2 separate regions of the Homo sapiens genome follow, and region 1 is linked to region 2. Evidence: promoter capture Hi-C in 16 types of primary human blood cells and fetal thymus (Javierre and others, 2016). All regions are on one chromosome and are shown on one strand. Each heading gives the region's core, a stretch centred on a gene start or on the middle of the fragment in contact. The rest is flanking DNA. Distances are from core to core; before and after follow the strand shown. Region 1 overlaps CMSS1 (cms1 ribosomal small subunit homolog). Region 2 holds the start of FILIP1L (filamin A interacting protein 1 like).

The links. The method cuts DNA at HindIII sites, captures the fragments that hold promoters and counts their contacts. A CHiCAGO score of 5 or more calls a contact.
Region 1: a fragment that was not itself captured here is called in contact with the fragment with the promoter of FILIP1L in region 2 in 3 of 17 cell types (erythroblasts, M0 macrophages and M2 macrophages); the score reaches 6.2 in erythroblasts.

Annotation. Positions count from the first base shown.
Region 1 is chr3:99,825,856-99,831,543 of GRCh38, reverse strand. All of the region lies in intron 1 of CMSS1 (cms1 ribosomal small subunit homolog), which reads right to left. FILIP1L (filamin A interacting protein 1 like) reads left to right here. Exons shown (of 6, transcript NM_001387850.1): 6 at 939-2,733. The coding sequence ends at 1,130. The region is part of intron 1 of LOC105374010 (a long non-coding RNA gene); the gene reads right to left. Among named protein-coding and RNA genes, the nearest start is that of HP09053, 4.8 kb to the right of the region's middle. The HindIII fragment of the contact is 1,217 bases long and covers 2,295-3,511 here.
Region 2 is chr3:100,110,548-100,116,352 of GRCh38, reverse strand. FILIP1L (filamin A interacting protein 1 like) reads left to right here and starts at 1,852. Exons shown (of 6, transcript NM_001387850.1): 1 at 1,852-2,300. The region is part of intron 1 of CMSS1 (cms1 ribosomal small subunit homolog); the gene reads right to left. The HindIII fragment of the contact is 6,115 bases long and covers 1-3,816 here.

The DNA of each region.
Region 1 (5,688 bases), core at 1,654-4,153, 290 kb after region 2:
CATGGCTTGGATAATATGGTTGTTCACAGAAATGTCCTGATCTCCAAGTTGTTTCCTTCCTTTTTCGTCTTTTAAAACAATTTAGTGTTCCTTTTTCTCATAGCATACTTACTATAAAATATGTGGAGAACACAGAAAATGTAAGAAAAATCAAAAGTACCTGTAAGTCCACTAATCAGGGTTAACAACCAATAGCATGGGTGCATTTTCTTTTAGTATTTTTCTCTTCACATGTAAATAATTAAAGCATGTACACAGTTTTAAATTCTACTTTTAACATATCTAAGTAAACGTTTTCCTGAAGCTTTGGCCTCATTAACAAAGCATGTTGTCATAATTATACTATAATTCATTTAACACATCCTATTCATTTAACTGTCCATTTTTCATCATTATAAACAATGCTAAAATCAAATATCCTTGACTGCCTCTCTACATCCTAGAAAAGATTCATAAGGCTCTTGATACATACTACCAAGCTGTTCCACTAATCATCATTGGAGCTGCCCATCTCACTCATACTGTGAAAACTTTTAAAAGTCTGAAGGCCCAAGTCAAATGCCATATTCTTCATGAAGCACTCTTAAAGACAATCTCATTCGAAATTAACCTTTCTCTGGCAATCTCATGGCTCTTTGAGATTAATTTGGGACACTACTCTTGTATATGTCCTACTACACCGTGATTGCCAAATATCTATTCATCTCTGTATCTACCACTATCTCTATCAAGAACTGTGCACACAGCACACATTCAACACACACCAGATTACTTTACTGACATTCTTTTCTTCAACCTGACGATCTTTGATCTGATACATCCCCAGAAACTGGTGCTTTCAAAGCCAAATCCTCCAAACTGACTCCATGTCCTAAACAATTTCTACTTCTCCACCAACTGTACCATTAATTACCTTTTGTTCTCTTGTTTAATTCAAGATCAAGGAGGTATGCAAGCAGAGAATCCCAGCACGGATCCCTAAACCGAAATCTACAGGCATCACCAAGATTTCCACTAAAGCCCCCACAGTGCCTATGGATAAGCCTATTTACCAAAATGGCTGTGGGAAGCTACACATCGTGAGAACTGTCACCTCCAACACCTTCCTCCACGTGGGAGGGAGAAGGTAACTCATACCAATGCACTGCCTGGATACATTCATCTACAGAAATATGTGGAAAGCTAAAATTACCACTATGAAAGGCCAAAGGACCATCTCTCCAGGAAATGGTGAAGCAGCTTTGTGGACCTGATGAAGATCATCCCCCAAAAAGCAGCACGTCTACAATTATTTTACTTCTATATGTGTATATGCACACACAAACACTCGCAGGCCTAGACCCACACCCAAATCTACCCATTTCCTCATCCGACATATAATCTAACCCAAAGATGAACTATCTAGAATCAGCCTGGGATAGGACTGAATTCACTAGAACAGTTCAAGAGTTTTCTGGTGAAAACAGAAGTAATTCTTCATTCTACAGAACTTTGCTGATTAATCATATTTTGCTAAGAAAAGGTGATAGCAAAAATTCCTAATCTGAGTCAAGAAAATCAGATTATTTCCATCAAGATGACAGGACAATTAAAATCACACTTTAAGGTCTAAAACTATGATTTCTTTATGACCAGGAGGGAAAAAGCAAAGTGATAATTCTTAAAGGAGGAAAAGCATAACAAAAGTGAATAACAGCCGAATATATCCTTTGTGCAGAATACCTGACAATCACTGGTGTAGTAAGCATACCTGACCACTGGCACTTAGTCTCAGTAACATTGAGATATTTTAGGGAGACATGAATCAATATTCCAGGTGCTTGAAAAAATACAGAATTTATCATCTCACAGGACATTGTTTATTCATATCTCTTCTCTGAATAAACACTATCGAAAATCAGTTGATTCAACAAAAGCTTGGGGTTAGGAGACTCAAATTCCAATCCTAGATTTTCATTCATGTGACAACGAGCTTTGCATTCATCAATCTAAGCCTTGAGTTTCCACATGTAAAACAGGAAAGTGAAATAATTCCTCAGGTCCCTTCCAGTTCTGATAACCTATGAATATGCCCAACTATTAATACAAAATGTTGAATTCAAACAGTCATCTATAAGGGTAGACACAGTCCCCTGGCAGAAAGCTAAAGCAATTCTTTACATCACACTGAAAACTCTCTCATTGAATTGAGAGAAAGGTGTGCCTGTAATTCAGTGTGGACAGAGTAATACAGGACATTTTAAGACAAGGCATGTTTGACACAAAAGGCAGTTCAAAAAACATTTCAAAAAGCTTCAATCGAGGGGGGAAAAAAATCAATGGAACGACACTAAACATTTTTTGTGATCCTTCACTAAAAACTGGAAGCATGACCCTGGAAGAAATCCTCATGGTTAAGGACTGCTTTAGCCAGCTGCCCTGGGTTGGAGCCAGCAGAGCAAGAGTAAAGGAACTCCCATTCCCCATACTTATCTAACTAAGTCCACCTCATTGCACTAATGCCACTGTACAAACACCCCCAGGCCCCTGCAATTTCAAGGAGGAGAAGGAGCTAGAGGCCTGGGCAGCATTGAAAGGGATGATGGGCAGCATTGAGAGGGATGATGGGCAGCATTGAGAGGGATGATAGGCAGCATTGAGAGGGATGATGGGCAGCAGTCCCAGCAGGCAAGTGGCAGAGGGCAGTAGGGGGAGGTCAAGTGAATTAAAAGCCTGAAATGGAAAAGTCGAAGTGAAAGGAAAGCAGGAAGAGAATAGTAGAAGGGGATGGACTACAAAAGAAGGTGAAGACTGGGCATGGTGGCTCACGCCAGTAACCCCAGCACTTTGGGAGGCTGAGGTGAGAGGATTTCTTGAGGCCAGGAGCTCAAGACCAGTCTGGGCAACTTGGCAAGACCTTGTCTCTCCGAAAAGAAAAAAAAAAAAAAAAGCCAGGTGTGGTGGTGCACACCTGTAGTCCTAGCTAATTAGGAGGAAGAGGCAAGAGGACTGTTTGAGCCCAGAAGTCCGAGGCTGCAGTGAGCATGATCACACCACTGCACTCCAGACTGACTGACAGAGCAAGACCTTGTTTGTGGGGAAAAAAAAAAAAAAGGGTGCAGTGATGAAGCTCTAACATCAAAAAAAAAAAAATACACGTATGTACAGAGTGCTTAGTATTGTGCCTCACATAGAGCAGGTATTTGATAAATCTAGAGTGAATAGAGAATGAGTAAATGAAGAAGAGAAGGCCATTCAGTCAAGACATTTTCTCACTTGAGAAAACATGCTAAGAGATAGCAATGGTATGACAGGGTTAGGAAAAGTAGTTATGCCCAGGTGACATTCAACATTGGTAATTATGCTAATAGAAAAAAAACCCATTGGAATCCCTTAGTGAAAACCAAACAGGTTGAAAAGAAGCATAAAACAGGAAAAACAACATGCACTAACAATAGTCCCAGAAAAACAAAATACCTTGGGAAAAATTTTACTCTGAAATGAAGCACAAAATACGTTGTATGTTGAAGCTTTCAAAATTGTTTTCTCCCATGTCAGGAGACTTCCTAAAGTACATTTTTATCCAAGCTAGCATAAGTTTAAGAGGAAGCACAAAAAGAGGGACAAGATAGTATACAAAGTACTAAAAAATTTAGGTAGAAGCCAGGCACGGTGGCTCACGCCTGTAATCCCAGCACTTTGGGAGTCCGAGGCGGTGGATCACCTGAGGTTGGGAGTTCGAGACCAGCTTCACCAACGTGGAGAAACCTCGTCTCTACTAAAAATGCAAAATTAGCCGGGCATGGTGGCGCATGCCTGTAATCCCAGCTACTCCGGAGGCTGAGGCAGAAGAATCTGCTTGAACCTGGGAGGCGGAGGTTGCAGTGAGCCGAGATTGCGCCATTGCACTCCAGCCTGGGCAGTAAGAGCAAAACTCCGTCTCAAATTAAAAAAAGAAAAAATTTGCGTAGAAAAATGTTGACACTTCTATGGGAACCAGCAGAAACTCATCTTTAAATGGTAATGCAGTTCTAATCCCATTAAGACAAAAGTCTTCAAAGTAAAGTTACATTTGCCGGGTGCGGTGACTCACACCTGTAATCCCAGCACTTTGGGAGGCCAAGGCGGGCAGATCACATGAGGCCAGGAGTTTGAGGCCAGTCTGGTCAACATGGCGAAATTCCATCTCTATTAAAAACACAAAAATTAGCTGGGCTTGGTGGTGCATGGCTGTAATCCCAGCTACTCAGGAGGCTGAGGCACGAGAATCGCTTGAGTCTGGGAGGCAGAGGGTGCAGTAGGCCAAGATCATGCCACTGCACTATAGCCTTGGTGACAGAGTGAGACTCTGTCTCAAAATAATAACAATAAATAAAGTTATATTTTAACAAAAGGATTGACAACCAAAAACCATGCTTGTTTCAAGCAATATGTATTAATAATATAATAAAAATGCAAATACAACTATAAAGTGAGAATACTATTTGGAGTTCAAAACAGTAATGTCTGACCTATATGTAACACAACTGAAATATAAAGCATCTTTCCTCCTGGGCATGTTGTTTCCGCAGAAGTGTGGCCTCTGAAGAAAAATGAAAATAAAAGAAGCTGACCTAATAATTCTAGAGTGATTTCACCTGATGAACTGTTTCAAAGTAAGCAGATAAAAATCCAAGTGAGTGAAAACAAATCCAATTTGTAACAAAAATGTTAAAAACCTGATACTTTTAAGCTGAAGTCTTTTCCTGGTCCTTCATTTATTTACCTTCAAGGTTTCTGAACTAATCTTGAGATATTTTAGAATCAAATATCTGATTTTAACAGATATGTGACTGGTCTAATACATAGCTGATAACTACTAAGTAACGGAGTAACTAAGGTAAAACACAATTCTCTCTGGATTTGTTTCAAATTTCTTCTCCTGAAGACACGTGACATACAATTCACGATGTGACTTTGAGTTTGGGGCAGCGTTTGCAAACTGCGGTTCACAGGCCAAATTCAACCCACTGTGAAAGTTGAAAAACAATCAAAATAAGACTATTTTGTGACGTGAAAATTACATAAAATTCAAATATTGTTGTCCATAAATAAAATTTTATTGGAACACAGCCATACTCATTCGTTTACACATTTATTTTCTATGACTGCTTTTACACTGCAACAGCAGTTATGACGGTGATGACTGGACCCACACAACCTAAAATATTTATTATCTGGATTTATATGAAAAAAGTTTGCTGACCTCTGGTCTAGTGTGAACTAGAACAAGGAACTCAGAAATAGGAATTTAAGAGCTTGATCAACTACTTTTTATAAGCAATATTAGCCATTTAAAAATCAATTAAGAATTCTATGAAAGCTGATAAAAATGGGGAAACTATATTTCAAGCTGTGATATATTTAGTAAAATGTATAATTCTATGAATGCATCTGAAGTGTTCCACTAAATAACATCAGATTAACAACAGATAAAAGACTTGTGCTGGGCCGGGCTCCGTGGCTCACACCTGTAAATCCTAGCACTTTGGGAGGCGGAGGCAGGCGGATCATGAGGACAGGAGATCAAGACCATCCTGCCTAACGTGGTGAAACCCCCCTCTACTAAAAATACAAAAAATTAGCCAGGCATGGTGGCATGCACCTGTAGTCCCAGCTACTTAGGAGGCTGAGGCAGGAGAATCGCTTCAACTCAGGAGGCGGAGGTTG
Region 2 (5,805 bases), core at 603-3,102:
CATTCAATAAAACAGCAATTTATGAGCTCATGTTGATATAAATAAACACAAAAATAAGTGAGGAGAAGGGAATGCTCTTCTTCACTCTAAGAAAGTTTATTTAAGAGCAATATGTTTACCTAGTCTCCAAGTATCTCCCCACAAAATATTTATTAACTGCAAAAGGAAAAACCATAATTTTACAGTAAATCTAACAGATACCACCTTAAGCAAGTGGGTTTGGTTACAAGACTAACTCCGTTTATGTGACTCCTGATATGATTAAGAAGAATACAGCATTGTTTCTGTAGTATTCCTGCCATAAAAATACACAATTTCAATCTCACAATGAGGAAACATCACACAAATCTAAACTAAGGAACATTCTACAAAACGTACTCTTCAAAAATGTGAAGGTCACATATAAAAAAGGAAGATTACAGAACTGTTCAAGATTGAAGGAACGTAGAGACAAGGCAACTAAATGCAACACATAATCGTGGACTAAAAAACCATTTTTTTTCTATAAAGGATATTATTGAGACATTTGGTGAAAAGTTGAATGGGATCTATGGATTAGAAAGTAAAGTTGATTTACTGAATTTAATTGTTATACTGTGGTTATGTAGAAGAGTATACTTACATTTTTAAGATAATCACACTAAAGTATATAAATTAATTCAGAAAAAAATATACACACACCAAAATAAACTCACGGGTGGAAAGGAGGATGAGAGAGAGAGACAGAGAGAGAGAGAGAGAGAGAGAGAGAGAGAGAGAGAGAGAGAGAGAGAGAGACAGAGAGAGAGAGAGAGAAAGAGAAAGAGAGGGAGAATACAACCAGTGGTAAAATGTTAAACATTGGAGAACCTTAGTGAAGAGCATATGGAAATTCTTTATTATTCCTGTATTTTTTCTATAAGTCTGAAATTATTTTGATGTTAAAAATTAAAAATAAAGAGCATGGGCTTTGGAGTAACTCAGATTCAATTTTGAATCCTCAGTCTTATATCTATCATCTGTGAGATCCTAGGAAGTTATTAAATTATTCTGATCTTTGGTTTTCTCATTAGATCACCAGGAGTAGGACTAATTTAAAGGGCTGCTGTGAGGATTAAATTAGATAATGCATGACTTGAGCACTGGGCAGGTGGTAGGCATGTCTGGTAAGTGATCTGATACATAATGGATGCTGAAATATATATTTGTTGAATAAATGAACAAACTCCTCCCTTCTATCCAACCCCTCAATCTGAACAAGTGATCCTACTTAAAGAAAATTAGATGCTTCAAATTTTAGCAATCCTAAGTATGAAGGTTTTCTTAACACTTGAATAATATAAAACAAAATGTCAAATAATAATAATAAACATACCACCATGCATTCCGATGTTGCTCTAGAGTTTCCTCAGCACTTTGCCCTCGTGTCTCCTGTGACACTAAATGGAACAGGCAGGCATTCAAGTTTGAGTCCAACACAGCGTTAATAATAGCGAATGTTTACAGTGCCTTGGGTTATGGGTGTCAAAGAAGGGGTCATGCCCTTGTTACTTAAATCACAAACAAGGCTTACATCAGCTCATGGCTGCAGGGTACAAAATGAGGTGCAATTTAATGTCCATCTGGGCATCTGTTCCTAAGGTGCTAGCACTGCTGTCTGTGGTTCACAATATATCTGGGGTAGCAACACAGCAAAGAATGGGACCCAGGTTGTGCTTGGGAAGTTTCTACTCTCAGCCAAGATGTGCACATGAATTTAAAATTACCTAAGAGGGTGTTTCAGAGTTGCTGGCCAAAGAGTGGTGTCTTCTAATCTGGAGAGCAGCTGCTGGGCACAGGCATGCAAACACACATACACAGACACACACACACACACACAGACGTGCTCACGGAGCCTGTGCCTGCCTCTACTTGTCTGCTCTGCGCAGATGGTTCCTGGCTTTTGGGTCACCTCATCCTGCAGCCCAGTCCAGTTAGAACCTTTCTTCCACAGAGACTGGCAAGCTGTGGGGTAAGAGTTTTGGTAAGGCTGCCTGTCTTCAGAGCATGAAGGACACTGCCCGGAGAGGGAAGAGGGCAATATTTAGTGTTTGGGCCTACTTGTTGTTGGGCTCCCCACTGCCTCTCCTTTGCAGAGCTATCACTGGCCCCTGGTTGCAAACTCTCGGTGGCTTTCAAGCCTACAAAACAAAAACTGAGAGGGTGTCCAAAAAGAGAAGAAGAAAACGTTGTTGTTGGTCCTGGATTCCACTGTTGGATTTTGGTGGGGATGAGAAGAAGGAATTACCAGGTGTGATCAACACCTGCACGGTACCTGCACGGTAAGCTAAGTGTCCCCATCCTTGCTGAGAAGAGGCTTTGGGATGTTTCTGTGTTATTCACCAGCTAGGAGCGGCCAACACCACTCTCCAAAAGTAGGATCTTGTGAATATTATGCAAGGGAACGTAGTATGATTAAGAGCTTATGACAGATGATGACTTTTAGGCTAAAATGACTAAGAGTTGCTTGCAAAATAGAGGAACTATCCTGACAGTAGGTAAGTTTTACTATAGTGATACACATGAAAGAAAACCAAAATGAAACTTTAAATTGTTATCCTGTTAAGAGTAAGATGGATAGTCAAAAATTAAAGAAAAAGTATGTTTGGATAAATGGCTTTCCTTCTTAATAGCTTGATTTTGTAAGCTGATGTGAATGATCAATATACAGTGTCAAAATCATCACAATGTGTTGAAAATGGAGAATTATACTGAATAGGTTAAATTGCAGAGGAGGAATTCTCTTTTCATGGAAAGATTAATGGAAGAAACTAACATTTTCAAATGGCAACTATATTGTATCTTTTTTCTTTTGTTTGTTTACCTTCTGTTGATGTTAAGATTTAATGAATGAGAGCCAGAGAACAGAAGCAGGTTTCTGAGATAAGGTTTTTGGCAGGTCTTGGGAGATACCTATCAAGAACTTGTTCTGTAACACCCCACAGAAGATGACTGGATATCCATGGGCACATCACATCTGGATATAAATGGGAAATGATGCTAGGCTGCTGCCAAATGATATCACAGAAAATTCTGCTCACTGTACTCCTCAATGGGAGGATTATTCAATGTTTAGGGTGGCTGCACAGTTTTGTATATAGGCGCTCCACTGAAGAGAGATATGTGTTCAGTTAAAATGGTTGTGACATATTCAGTTATTCTTTTTTCTTTCCATACCAATTAATGATTACATATCTTTCTTTATTCATTATCTGTTCACATCTCAGGAAGGAATAGAAGAGGTGCAACACATACACTGTTTAACTACACTACCATATTCCACGTGTGTATTAGATATGCATAAAGGAGAACATGGTGTAGTTAATACTAGAGAGAATGCATTGCAATTACAGCAATGTTCCTTTAGCTACAGTTAAACTTGTTTTTCCTGTGATGACATTTTCTGATTTATCAATCTGCTATCTCCCAAAGCCAAATATTCCAAGTAAACATTTCTCTACATTTATCAGTTGACACTATTATGAAACTCTCATTATGCTTAATTAAAAATCAGCATAAATACTGTAAGAGCTGTTTGTTAATAAAAACTTCTAAAGGCAGCAATAATATTCATGGGCTCTTTCCACCTGGGTAATTAAGGTCTACTACTCTGATGAGAATTTTCTCAGTAATTTCCCAAAGCAATGTGGGGTTTGGATTCTTATACTAACCAATACAAAGATACTCTGTAAAAGTTCTGCAGCAAAGAAAAGCATTCATTATTTAAAGAGTGACAATTTATTTTTAGAGTTTACCTTCTATTAAAGTTCATGTGTAATTGTCTTTTTTGCTTAAGCTTTATTTAAGCAATAAATTAGCAATAAATTTAAGTAATAAATTTAGTCAAGACTTGGTCTTAGGTAGTGGCGCTGGCACTGGAAATGAAGATATTTTATTGTGCCATTGAAATGATGGTGCCTTTAATAGAGTGCTATTGTAGGAGACTGCCATTGCAACTTGCCGAGAGTCAGGCAGGTCCAAGGATGCAAAAAACCTAAATGTAATGGGCTCTATCTTCTTTTCTTCTGATTACAGTCCATATTATTCTATGTTCTAACCTAAAGCAAAATTTTCATTACCAATGTAATACCCGCTTCACCTTTCTAATATGTTACATTAAAAAACATTTAAAGAAAAAGTGCTAGTAGCTTTTATTTTCCTTAGAGTAGAACTAGTGCCTACCAGCAATACACAGTAAGTTTGTTTAGTTATATTAGGGGAACACTTTTATAGTAATAGCTTAGTTTGTTTGCTCATTTGTTCATTCATTCATCAACTATTTTAGAATGCCTACTCTGTGCCAGGCCCCGTGCTGGTTATTGGGATTATAACAGTGAATGAGGCAAACATGGTCTCCAGATGCCCTGAGTGTAGGAATCTGCACAGAGAGTCTGATTACTAGTGATTTGAATCTGTGTATTGTGCATGTTGTTCAACATAGATATGGAGACAATTTTAGATACCATCTCAGCATCAAATAATTGAATTAGAAAACACATTTTAGTGCAAATACTTGAGCCTTCTTTGAGGGATGTTGACATTTTGGTGCAAGCTATAGATGTTAGACAAAAACTTTACATACTAATACCATCTGGTTCTTCAGAATTGGGTCAGACAGGAAGTCTAAGACAGAAGAAAATTTGTATTATAGCCTCTTAGAAGTCTAGGGTTCAAATCTGACAGTAGTTCAAGATTTTCTGTTTAATCTGATGGTCAATCACTGGAGCCTACACTGAAAGAGCAGCCCTACTGTGCTTCTCATCTTGGTTGAGGAGACTTTTCATAATGGCATTAACAATGTCATTTATACCTACAAGGTGTTTTATATTGTGTATAAAACTCGCATATCAATTACGCACTTGACCCTATGTAGTAGGAAAGGCAGGTATTACCATTCCCTGTTCAGCAGATAGATAAACTAAGTTTTAGATATTTAAGGGACTAGCCCAGCTAATGTTTTCTCTAACGCACAGCCTCATGGAGTAATCTCTTAAATAAAGTTCTAGAAAAATTCTGCATTTTCAACATGAGTACTCATAGCCCTGACCTATTGTTTGAAAGTGGTATTAGCAAACAGGAAAACATGCAGGTAGAGGAAAGTTTCACTCCTCCCCCTACCATCCTCTTTCTGCCTCCATTGCCCTTCTAGGTCCTTACCCTAGAGTTCTTCCTTCTGGCCCTTGAAAATTCAGTTTAGTTGCTAAAAGAGATATAAGCTACTGCCTTTTTCTTCTTCTTTTTGGGTGGAATGATGAAGTAGAATATGGCGAACTGGGCTGTAAAGCTCTGAATTGACTCCTATTATTGTAATGAAATAAAAAATTATTCTGAGTAATAAGATTTTAAAAAGTTTGTGACTGTTTAGGACAGGAACAGTATAGTATATTAGTATATCCACCTACATGCAAAATACAAATGGAATTTTACACTGCTGGTTAGTACCACCAGCCTAGCAACATAAAACATTGTCACATCAGATCAGACAATTTTCTACCCAGTCCAGATCCTGCTTCTGGTGCAAGCATAAGTAGGCTGTTGTGAAGAAGCAGTTTATCATGGGTAAGAGGAAAAATTCACAAGAAAAAATACTCTATATGGAAAAATGGTAAGCACAGGTAATGGAGAGCTATACAGAGCTGAGCAGAGCAGTGAATGGAGAAGGTTTTTCTGATGGATTTTGAGAGTTAAGCCACATAGCTAGTATTGTCTATTATTAGCTATGACCAAGCAAATACACGACTTTATTTCTTTTTTTACGTTCTTCCTGGAATTTCCTGTACATGTATT